Linked DNA regions of Homo sapiens: all the other regions are linked to region 1. The links are contacts of gene promoters, found by promoter capture Hi-C in blood cells and fetal thymus (Javierre and others, 2016). All regions are on one chromosome and are shown on one strand. Each heading gives the region's core, a stretch centred on a gene start or on the middle of the fragment in contact. The rest is flanking DNA. Distances are from core to core; before and after follow the strand shown. Region 1 holds the start of CFAP45 (cilia and flagella associated protein 45). Region 2 has its middle 6.8 kb from the start of AIM2. Region 3 overlaps CADM3 (cell adhesion molecule 3).

The links. Contacts are between HindIII fragments. The CHiCAGO score rates a contact against its expected background, and 5 or more counts as called.
Region 2: a contact is called between a fragment that was not itself captured here and the fragment with the promoter of CFAP45 in region 1, in 1 of 17 cell types (neutrophils). The highest score is 5.3, in neutrophils.
Region 3: a fragment that was not itself captured here is called in contact with the fragment with the promoter of CFAP45 in region 1 in 7 of 17 cell types (M2 macrophages, endothelial precursors, M1 macrophages and 4 more); the score reaches 11.1 in M2 macrophages.

Annotation. Positions count from the first base shown.
Region 1 is chr1:159,898,088-159,901,812 of GRCh38, forward strand. CFAP45 (cilia and flagella associated protein 45) reads right to left here and starts at 2,078. Exons shown (of 12, transcript NM_012337.3): 1 at 2,009-2,078. The coding sequence starts at 2,011. It overlaps MIR4259 (microRNA 4259), which reads right to left and starts at 1,992; the gene lies at 1,892-1,992. LOC124904435 (a long non-coding RNA gene) reads left to right here and starts at 2,163. Exons shown (of 3, transcript XR_007066679.1): 1 at 2,163-2,726. The HindIII fragment of the contact is 6,665 bases long and covers 1-3,725 here.
Region 2 is chr1:159,081,708-159,085,432 of GRCh38, forward strand. It overlaps a transcript of AIM2 not described here. Among named protein-coding and RNA genes, the nearest start is that of AIM2, 6.8 kb to the left of the region's middle. The HindIII fragment of the contact is 2,342 bases long and covers 387-2,728 here.
Region 3 is chr1:159,178,904-159,182,628 of GRCh38, forward strand. The region is part of intron 1 of CADM3 (cell adhesion molecule 3); the gene reads left to right. Among named protein-coding and RNA genes, the nearest start is that of CADM3, 9.2 kb to the left of the region's middle. The HindIII fragment of the contact is 4,108 bases long and covers 1-3,725 here.

The DNA of each region.
Region 1 (3,725 bases), core at 828-3,327:
TTTTGCACAGTCTCCGCAGGCTGGCAAATTCAGGCTTCAAACTCTTGGCCTGGTTCTACTTCCCTTTCTGTAGACTTTGGTTACCAAGAAAGGGAGATTCCCATGCACGAGACCCCTTGCCTTTTACTCTGAGTGATCCACGCAATTATCCTCTTTCTTCAATTGGGACCAAGTTGGCCATCTGTAGGATGCCACCAGAAGATAACATCCTAGTCAGTACTGAGGTCCCCATCTCTCCTTCTGCAGGATTTTAATCATTATTTTTGTAAGAGTTCTGGAAGTCTGCCTAATTGTGACCCTCACCACCACTACTATCTCTTCTCATGCCTTTAAATATTCTCCAAACCTAGTGAGTAGCACTATACGTACACGAACACACACAGCTGGCCTGCCAGAGATCACTAACTTAGACCCACTGCTTCTCAAAGGTGTCTATATGCCCAGTCCTGTCCCAGGAATTACAGAGGGGCTCAGTGAGTGAGTCAAACCCCTGCCCTGAGTGGCTCCTGGATGGGGAATCCCTGATCTGGGTGCTCTGAAGCCCACAGGTCTTGCCCAGGTGCAACTTATGCCCTATGAGAGCTTGGAAATAGGAAATTTTTAAAAGAGGACAAAAGGGGAACTAACATTTACCATATGCCCTTAGACACCAGGCATGACAGTAGGTGTTCACATACATACATACGCCACTGTGTTTGTAAGGTGCTGAGAGAAGATGGGACACTGAATCAAATAGAATACATAAGTGAAAGGGGACGCTCCCCCACCCCAATTACAACACTGCAGGGAGTCCTCGAAAGTCAGGAACTGCTCTTTGTTGGAGACTTATTTAATAATTAACAAAATTCTTCTGAGGTCCACTGAGCCCCAGAAAAGCAATGCAGCCCCTGGGCCTGAAGTCTGTCCACAAGTACATCCAAGTAGCAACCTTTGCCACCTGTTGTGCCCCAGACATTCTAGGTCAGTTCCAATAACCCAAGACTCCAACACTTATCATCTGCCCTTCCCCTCCCCTCTGGGACCAACACACTCAAGCCCAGGCATCCCCTTCATGGTTCCTCCCAGGCTTTGCTGGCCTTCTCAGCCCTCAGTACCCTGACAGCCCTCCCCATCCCAGCAAACCCCAGGCTGCCAGTCCTGTCCCAATCTCTCTCCCGGGCCTTGCAAACCTGAGACCCTCCTCACTCACTCACTCATTTATTCATTCATTCATTCACTGCCAAATATTTATTGACTAACTACTGAGGGATACAAAGCCCTGCTAACAGAAGAAAAACCTGAGGCTCGGGCACATTAGATGACTTACCCACAGTCACCTTGCTAGTTAGTGGCAAAACAGGTACCACGACCCATTATCTGGCCTCCTCACCAGTGCTTTTTTTTTTTTTTTTTTTTTTTGAGACGGAGTCTCGCTGTGTCGCCCAGGCTGGAGTGCAGTGGCGCGATCTCGGCTCACTGCAAGCTCCGCCTCCCGGGTTCACGCCATTCTCCTGCCTCAGCCTCCCGAGTAGCTGGGACTACAGGCGCCCGCCACCACGCCCGGCTAATTTTTTGTATTTTTAGTAGAGGCGGGGTTTCACTGTGTTAGCCAGGATGGTCTCGATCTCCTGACCTCATGATCCGCCCGCCTCTGCCTCCCAAAGTGCTGGGATTACAGGCGTAAGCCACCGCGCCCGGCCCACCAGTGCTTTTTCCCACACCACATCCACAATCTTTGGTCCACAGAGGCCCCGCTGTAATGGCAACGGGGAGAGGGTTGGGGCATCCCTTTCTCCCCAACTCCTCCGCTCAGCGCGCTCCACATTTCCAATCGTTATCGATGCTATCCCTAATTCCTCTTTTGAACCCACCTCAGGATCTCCCTTGCTTCTTCTAGAGGTGTTCTCCTTACTCCTGGGCCCTCCTGACCCCTAGACCCAACTGTGACCTCCCCTAGGCCCCCACTTTCCCCACTCAGAGCCCCCACCCAATTCAGGACACAAGGGGCCCATCTGAGGTTCTCCCTCACCATCTCCTCAGCCACACGCCCTGACTCCGGACTTCTGCTGCCGCCTCGGCGCCGCCAAGGCCCTAGTGTTGACGCGTTACCTTGGCAACCACTAGCCCGCGTTCTTCGGCTCAGGCCCCGCCCCCGGCCCCGCCCCTCCCACCTCCAGCGGGCAGTTGCCTTGTGCTGGTGGCTTAGGAACCGGAGCCCGTCGCTCCAACCGTTGCAGCTCCACGCTCCAGCCCAACCGCGGCTCTGAAGGATTGACCCGCCCTGGCGTGCCCTGCTCTCCACTTTGGCTTTGGCCAAACTTTTCGGTCAGAACCCGAACCTAAAGAACTTACTATGGGCCGAGGGGGTTCTAACTGTCAGCGGCCCCAGGAGCCTGGCCCAGGGTCACAGTTTTCCCCTGGGACTTCACCTAGGTTGCTATGATTACTCTTGCCCCATTGCCCAGGAGGCGCCAAGCCAACCCCTGATGAGTGTAGTCTGCAGAGAAGCCAGCAGGATCAGGACAAACCAGTTCCACAGCAGGAGAGAATCTGGTCGGGTCAACAAAGAACTTCCAGCCCTGAGGATGTCTATGCAGTCTCAAGAGCAGTTTCTTAAATTGCGGGCCTCAAATCTGCAGCTAAGAATCACCTGGGAGAGTTTATTAAAAATGGAGGCCCTACATTAGAATAAGTCAAAAGCTAAGGAACTGACTTTGGGGAGCTTGTCTTTTAACACTTCCTAGCTGGTATGTATTGTTCTAGAAAGTACATAGGGGTTTTGTCATTTTTTCCAATTTGGTTTGGCCTCTCTACCTCCCAACTTGCAGGGCTGGCACTGAGCTCACTTTGGTAGGCTGCATGCTCCAAGCCTCACGAAGCTGTCCCACCAGACCAAGGACATTTGTCTTCCTCCAGTGCTGATTAGCTGATTAGCTAAGCTCTTGGTGTGACTCTGTGAGTCTCTGAGCTGCTTTCTCAAACCTCTCTCCAAACCCTCACAGCCAGTCTTTCTGAAGCTCTTACTCCAACTTGGGCACTGAAGGCTATTCACAAGCCCCGGGGGAATGGAAAGAGGGAGACAAGGTCACTTCTTGCTGCTTTTAAAAGGACTTACTCCAACAGGCTTCACATTCCTTCCCTAGATTTCCCAGCCTTTATCTCCTTTGGGATCAAGAGTACAAAATTGTGTCCCCTGCCCAGTCCCACCAAGTGTTGAAGGCTTAATCAGAGGGAGAAGGGAAGGCCTGAAGAGGAGGAGCACAGTCCCTGGGAGGCTTGGGACTGAGAGAAGGGGCTGTTTTGTTCGTGGGAACCTTCCTTACTAAGCCTTGGCATTAGAACCCCGTTCCCTGCAGCTCAGAAAGAAGGGAAGACAAGTAACCGGCCCACTGTGAATAAGGTGCTTCCTGTATTCACCCCATTCTCCCAGGCACATCTGCATGACATAGTTACTATCCGTGTAACCAAAGAGGAAACAAGCCAAGAAAAAACTGTCCAAATTGAAAATCTATTCTTTTCTCAGCCCAGGGTAACTCTCTGAAGAAAAGGTGCAAAGTTGAGGCAGAAAGGGCTGGGCGCGGTGGCTCATGCCTGTAATCCCAGCACTTTGGGAGGCCAAGGTGGGCAGATCACGAGGTCAGGAGTTCGAGACCAGCCTGGCCGACATAGTGAAACCCCGTCTCTACTAAAAATACAAAAAATTAGCCGGGGGTGGTGGCAGGCACCTGTAATCCCAGCTACTCAGG
Region 2 (3,725 bases), core at 308-2,807, 820 kb before region 1:
AACTTTAAAAAAAGTCTAAAAGGACAATTAAGTTAACTTTAAAAGTAACAGACTCTTCCTGACACGTAAACTCTTAAAATACTCCAGCCTTTGCAGTGTGGCCCAGATGCTAGAAAGCCCTTCCCAGCCAAGTCCCTGGGGAAGTAAGCTCCAGCTCCCTGAAAACAGGAGGCAGTGAAGCACTCTTAATTTTTGTTTTCAATTTCATTGATTTCAGCTCTAATTTTTTAAAACTGTATTTTCTTATGCTTACTTTGCAGTTAATTTACTCTTATTCTTCTAGTTTCCTAATGTGGGAGCTTAGATGATTGATTTTTAGGTCTTTCTTTTTTTCTAGCCACATGCTTTTAAAATTACAAAACACCAAGGAGAGAGAAGATCCTAAAAGCTTCCTGAGAAAGAATAGATCATATCTGAGGATTAGGAATAAGAATAGAATTGGCATTCTTGACAACAACACTAGAAGCTAGAAGAGAGTGGAGCAATTCCTTTAACATTTGAGGAAAACAATTTTCAGCCTCGTCTTCTATACCTAGCTGATAATTATAATAATCACATGTACATGTAAGGAAGGAACAAAATTATTCAGGAATCTCCATGTCTCAGTTTGTTTGGGCCTCTATAACAAAAATACTATAGACTAAGTGACTTATAAACAACAATTTATATACACATTTATTTCTCACAATTCTGGAGGCTGGGAAGTCCAAGATCAAGGTACCAGCATATTCAGTACCTGGTGAAGACTTGCTTCCTGGTTCAAAGACAGCCATCTTTTTTCTTTTCTTTCTCTCTTTCTTTTTTTTAAAGGCAAGGTCTTGCCATGTTGCCAAAGCTGGACCCTAAGTCCTGGACAGCAGGTGTGCACCACCACACCTAGCAAGATGATGGCTTTTTGCTGTGTCCTCACATGGCAGAAGAGATGAAAGTGCTCCCTGGGCACTATCCCACGTAGTATAAGAGCACTAATCCTATTCACGAAGCCCATACCCTCAAGATCTAATCGCCTCCCCAAAGCCCCACCTCCTAATATCATCACATTAGGGGTTAGGATTTTAACATATGAATTTTGGGGGTAACACAAACATTCAGTCCACAAGGATGATGTCACCCCAGGATAATGGTGACCAGAAGCCCTTGAACCTTGACTTGTACACAGCTAGACTGAAACTTGTTCAAAACAGGGGGACGGAAAGCTCAAAAAAGAATATTTCCTAAGGAAAAAGTGTGTGAGATATATGTGTAAGTTTTGCAGGTAGTGGGTGGTTGCAGAGAAATTACCTGAATTTATTTTGAGAGAAATTTTACTGTTTTGGATCTTTTAAAAGAATTAGCAATAAGCACGTCAAGATGGAACAAATTATTAAAGATATGTCACTGACTTCAGAAAAAAATAAAGATGCATAAAGAAGGAATCTAAACATACTACATGGCTTAACTATTAGTTTTATTTAGATAGTTATGGTAATGTAAAACACCAAACAGTGATTTAATCAACAATTGTGAAATGACCATATTGGGAAAGTGGAAAGAGAGATGATGTACATGTATTTGTAAGATGTAGGGTTCCAACAATGTAAGAAAAGAGGTGTAAGAAAAGTAAATTTGTATCTTCTATTGCAGCAAATCAATAGATAATGGAGTGGCTAAAATTGAAAACTAGGAATGTAGCAATATTATGAAAGGTTAAAAAATGTTGCCTTGAGTGAGTGGGAATTGGGAGTGGTAAGGTATGAGGCAGGGGACTACTCTTTATTATCATCCTTGTAATATTATTGAATTTCAATCAATAGTAATATATTAACTGAATGAAAATAAATTTAAAACATAAATAGCTCTACTAAATGCTCATTGAAGTATCTTCCTATTCTAAGGATTTATATTCTATACCATTTAGCTCTACTAAATTTTAGCTCTACTAAATACTCACCCAAGTATCTTCCTATTCTAAGGATCTATATTCTATACTATCCTAAGGATCTACATTCTACACCATTAATCCAAATATGACCTATGATAAAATATAATAATATTTCAGAAATAGAATTCTTTACTTCCAGCTAAGTGAATTTGGAAAGGTCCAATTAGAGAAAAACAATAGCACTTGGACTAGTCCTATTGGAAGGAATAAGAGTTTTAACATGTGGAAATACAAAAAGTGGAATTCTAGGCCAATGGAATTGAATAGTCAATATTTATGGACCACCTATATATAACCAATTATTGATGCATTCTCTAGAGTCCCTAATTGCCTCTGGCACACAGAGCTAACCTTTACCACTCAGCCAGTAAGCCAATAAGTGAGAGATCTTTTTCACAGGCTATCTCATGTAACCCTACCACTCTATGTGGTAAATATATTAATTGAAACCCATAAGTGAGGGAACAGAGTTTAAAGAAGTTAAGTCATTTGCTCAAGGGTACCCTGCTAGTATGTGGTAGAGTCAGAATTTAAATCTGGTTATTTTCTAAAATTCCAATTCTCTTTCCATCACTCTGCCCTGCTTTTTGGCATATTTGTACATAATTTATATATTCTATATAATGTGATCAAATGAAAAAACCCTGGAGAGGCAGGGCCTTCCCTCCTCCAAGCCCACTTATTTCTGGTTCTCGCTCACCACATCCTTCCCTTCTCCTTTCACACAGCTCAAAACACAGCTAGACTTCCTACTGGAGAGAAAGCAACAATCTTGAACTGTTCAAGATTCCTACTGCAAACAACATAAGCTTCCCTTGATAGTTTAAGGAGACAGAAACTTTATTAAAAATATTAAACCCAGGCCAGGCACGGTGGCTCATGCCTGTAATTCTAGCACTTTGGGAGGCCAAGGCGGGGGAATCGCTTGAAGCCAGGAGTTCAAGTCCAGCCTGAGCAAAAAACGGCGACCTTATCTCTCCAAAGAATTTTAAAAATTAGCAGGGCTTGGTGACACATGCCTGTAGTCCCAATTACTTGGGAGGTTGAGGCAGGAGGATCACTTGATTGTCTAGGAGTTTGAGGCTGCAGTGAGTGGTGATCAAACCACTGCACTCCAGCCTGAGTGACAGAGCAAAACCCTGTCTGAAATACACACACACACACACACACACACACACACACACACATACAGACACACACACACATCCCTCAGAGATCACTGGAGAGTCTGAAGGACTGAAGGAACAAGGTCAAGACTAAACTCACAGAAAAAACAAAAATGTGTTTCCCACACCTTCTCCCTCCACCCACATACACACACACCAAACCAGGCAACAAAACTATTCTGGATAAGTTCACTGTTTCTGCTCCCTAAACATATAATGCCAAGACCTGACTACACTGCAATTGCTAAATCTACAGAACAAATGCCACTTCCGTATGTACTTCGCAATTGCTGCTATTGCCTAAAACCCAGATGTCTGAAGCCAGCCGCATCAGCAAGATGGAAACTCCATGGAGAGCCAGGTTCTCATGTTGATGACTTCTAAATCAAGCCTCCCTTGGAAGCATCTGACAGGGCAAGCCTAGGTCACCTGTGTCCATCTGGGCTGCAAGAAAAAAAAAATGAGAATCTGACTCCTGTCTTCTGAGTTGGGGACGTGAGAATTATTACATGTGAATTATTTAAAAGGTTCTGGGAAGGTACAAATGTGACACATGGCCACTAAAAACTCATTCAAGAGAGATAAGGATTCCAGAATTATTCCCAGATTTCTGGCTCAGGAAAGTAGGTGAATGATAG
Region 3 (3,725 bases), core at 730-3,229, 720 kb before region 1:
GAGTGACCTACAGCAGAGTCTAGTTGGAGAGGCAGGCTTCCAGGATGAATTTCCAGGACTCCTCTTTCATTTCTTCATTTGAAACAAGGAGAAACTTCATTCCTCAAGGACAGGTAATGAGAGTGATTTATCTCTATGAGCGAGGCTTCAGCAAGACAGAATTAGGGTTATAGTAACAGCTGGAGTGTCTCCCATCTACTCATCTTCCTAAGCCCCCTGTTCTCATGAAGAGCAGGCAGGTTTCAGAAAGGACTCAAATACAGAAATCTCAACATATTTTTCAGCACATATATCATTCTTTAATGTGAACTCTTACCCCTGGGATTCTTCAAGATTCTCTTCTCTCTCTCTCTTTCTCTTGGAAGTCTCCAAGAGAACAATAAGAAAGCTAAATAACTTAAAGAACAAACTAAAATGTTGTCTTCTCTAAGGATTTATTTTCCCTTTCCCCAGCTAGACTTACACTAACTGTGTATTGATTGCTAATTATAAGCACCTTTGGCTCATTTACTTCTAGTTCAGGGTCAAGAAGGTCAGGTGCATCACCTTGCTCTAGAGAGAAAAAAGAAAAAGTAATGAAGGCTGATGTCTCAGGCACTCATCTGTAGGCTAGCCATTATTCATTTCTCCCCTTTCTTCATATACTCCCAAATACTGGCAAGGTAGGATGAAGAACTAGTACTTCTGACAACAGATTTTATTGGAAATATGCAGATTCTTGTTTCATATTTTACTTTTACCCTTCTATGACCTGGCGCTTTGCTTCCAATTCTGATTTCAGTAAGTATATCAATGAGAGGTAACTTGGAACTTAGCATAGCAGTCAGTCAGTCTGAAGAGCCTGGAGCTGAGTTCTTGAGTTATTATAAAATGAGAAGCCAGTTTTACCATCTGCTCCTAATCATTTTTTTTTTGCCCAGCAAATGCAAAAATTACAGTGAAACAATTGCACTCACTAGTTCTTGCTGTAGTTCTTAAGGATGAGATCTTTCCAAATACATATTATATGTTTCTTCCCATAACTTCTATCTGCTAATCTCACACAAATATAAAAATTACCACCACTAAGCCCCTGAGCCTCCCATATTTTGATTTATCCTCAATTGCCACTTAATGCCAACTCTTTTCTGGTTTCCAAGCCCTGGAGTCCAATGTCAGTGACAGATGGACTGAGCCTCAACCCTGGAGAGGAGAGGATTCTGGCCCTCTCCTGGGGAGTTTGAGCAGAAGAGAGAGCCTGAATTCTGCTTTGGGGAGAATCTCTGAGTTTAAGCCATATGGTATTCTGGAAGTAAGGGGTTCTGATTAATATGGGCATGTGAAAAGGGCTCTGTATCTGGGTCATAATAAAATCTGTGTGTTCATGTCAGAAAAAAACCCCAGAAATATGATTAGTGAGAATCAGAGTGTCTTGTGTGTGTGTATTGAGGGGCACATGTCAAAATATGCATCTATCTTAGGGAACAAAAATGTGTGTTTGCCCCCATCAAATAAGAGACACTCAATGGAGATTTAAGAAGAGAGATAAGAGTTCTTTATGTCAGAACAATATTATTTTCCATTTCGGGGACTGTGAGATCTGTGGACTTGGGAGAATGTATCTATTTCACAGAAGAGTGAAATTCTCACAAAGTGAGGCTAATGCGAACAATGTACCGCAATTTTAAAAATACAGATTTTTTTTTTTTTAAGTGAGAAGAGTGCAGGGAGACTAAATAGCAGTTAGGATTGGGGGAATCAGTGAAACTAGAGTAGTGTGGGTGTGTAGAGCAGAACACATTTTTCTTCATGTAATGCTCCTAACCATTGCCCTGAACCTGTCATCCACACCCAGACTCTGATCATCCAGTGAAGGGAAACAGTAAAAACAAGTCAGGAAAATCAGAACCAGCAGAGATGAGTGCTTTCTTGCTTGACTTCTAACAAATTAAACTTTTCCACAGCATTGTTATCCCACCACACCAAGCCATCAGCCTGTAATATCTAAAGTGCAACATAAGGAGCATAGGAGAATAAGACAGAGCCCACTGAGAAAGGGAATTCATCCATGCCCTCAGACAGGTATTGGGGCACTGGGATGGGTAGTGCAGAGTATGAGCAAGTTGTTGGAACCTGGGCTGAGATTTTTCATCTCCAGAGAATATATTCTTTACTTCTGATTTTCTGGGATTTCTGGCCCATTCCCAGTCTCTATTTTCCCATACCCTTCCAATGAGCTAAATTGAATTCTGCGTTTGACTCTGTTATGTTTCCTTTCTCAAGTACTTTCCTAAGATGAGGAACTTTTTCCCCCCAGTTTTATTACATATGTGTGAAAACAGCAAGATAAATTGGGGGAAAGGGTATAAAATCCCTCTACTTAGTTTAAGAGGACAACTAAGAGTTCAAAGTCTGGCCTCCTGACTGTATTGCATTAGAATGCAGATTTCAAGTCATACCTGTCCGTATGTCTAAAGTGTTTGATCATAGTGAGAAGGGAATGAGGAGATGGGATAAACAGACACTCCTAAAATGGCTCAGGGCTGTTATCATCCTGTCTTCAGGGGCCTACTCCAAAACAACTGAAGACAGTCAGTACCTGCACAGAATCTGTGCTCTAGAGGTCCTCACTGAGCCCTCCCCCGTGCTCAGTTTCACCTCACCCTCTCATCCTCTTCAGGCAGAACACTAGATGCTTGTCTAGAGCACACAGCCCAGTCCCAGAAGGAAGCAGCTAAGGCAAGGAAGAGACTCTTTCGGGATCAAATCCCCTCCCTTTTTGTCTCTCAACTGCAGTTCTCCTTGCTACAACTCAGTATTGGCTACAGAGGGGCTTGTTTTGGTTGGGGGCCAGCCCAGGGCTCCCTCCTGGTGCTAATGCACCAAGAACACTGACTCAATAGCAAATCAAAGCAACAGCTGTCCCCACCTCCTTCCCTGCCACCCACTTCCCAGTCTCTGCTCCTCGGAATCTTAACTAAGTCTCTGAAGGCCCCCCTCAGCCTACCACAAGCCCACTTCTGCCTCCAGATTTTTTCTCTCTCCAGCTCAAGAATAGGACATGTTCCTCTGCTTTTTTTCTTCTCTTCTCTTCTGGCCCCTGTCTCCTGCTTCACAATCAGGTTAGCATTCCCTCAGCTCTTCACCTTGCAGATGCCAGCAAGCACACAGACAGACACACACACACACACACACACACACACACGCACACACACATGCCACCTGTCCTCACAGTCACCCTTTTTAGCTCCAAAGGGCATGGCAGTGACTTCTGCCCAATGGCCTCTTCTTCTGTGTGAACTGGAACCTGCCGGTAAAGCCCTGAAGTGTAAGAAGATGCCATCCGCCCCATCTTCAGGGACTCCCTCTTCATCATAACCAAACTTCTCCAACCTACTGGGCATTTAGTAGACTTACTTCTCTTAAGGTCCACGGTCCTGGAGTTCCTCAGTATCATGCACAGGAGATGAGGCATAGGAAGAGTGGGTGTCAGCGGAAATATTTGACACTTAGTGTCAAATTAACCACTGAATTAGCCAGTCCACAAGGACTGCTATAAACTATCAATGAGTACAGGTCTCACTCACTGCCTGTGTGACCATGCTCAAGTTCCTAAACCTCTCTGAGCCTTGGTTCCTCATCTTTAAAATAAGAGGATTGGACCAGATGATACTTAATATCTTGTCAACTATAAAAATCTACACTTCTAAGAATCATAGAGGGGAGAATATTTTGGGCAGAATTAG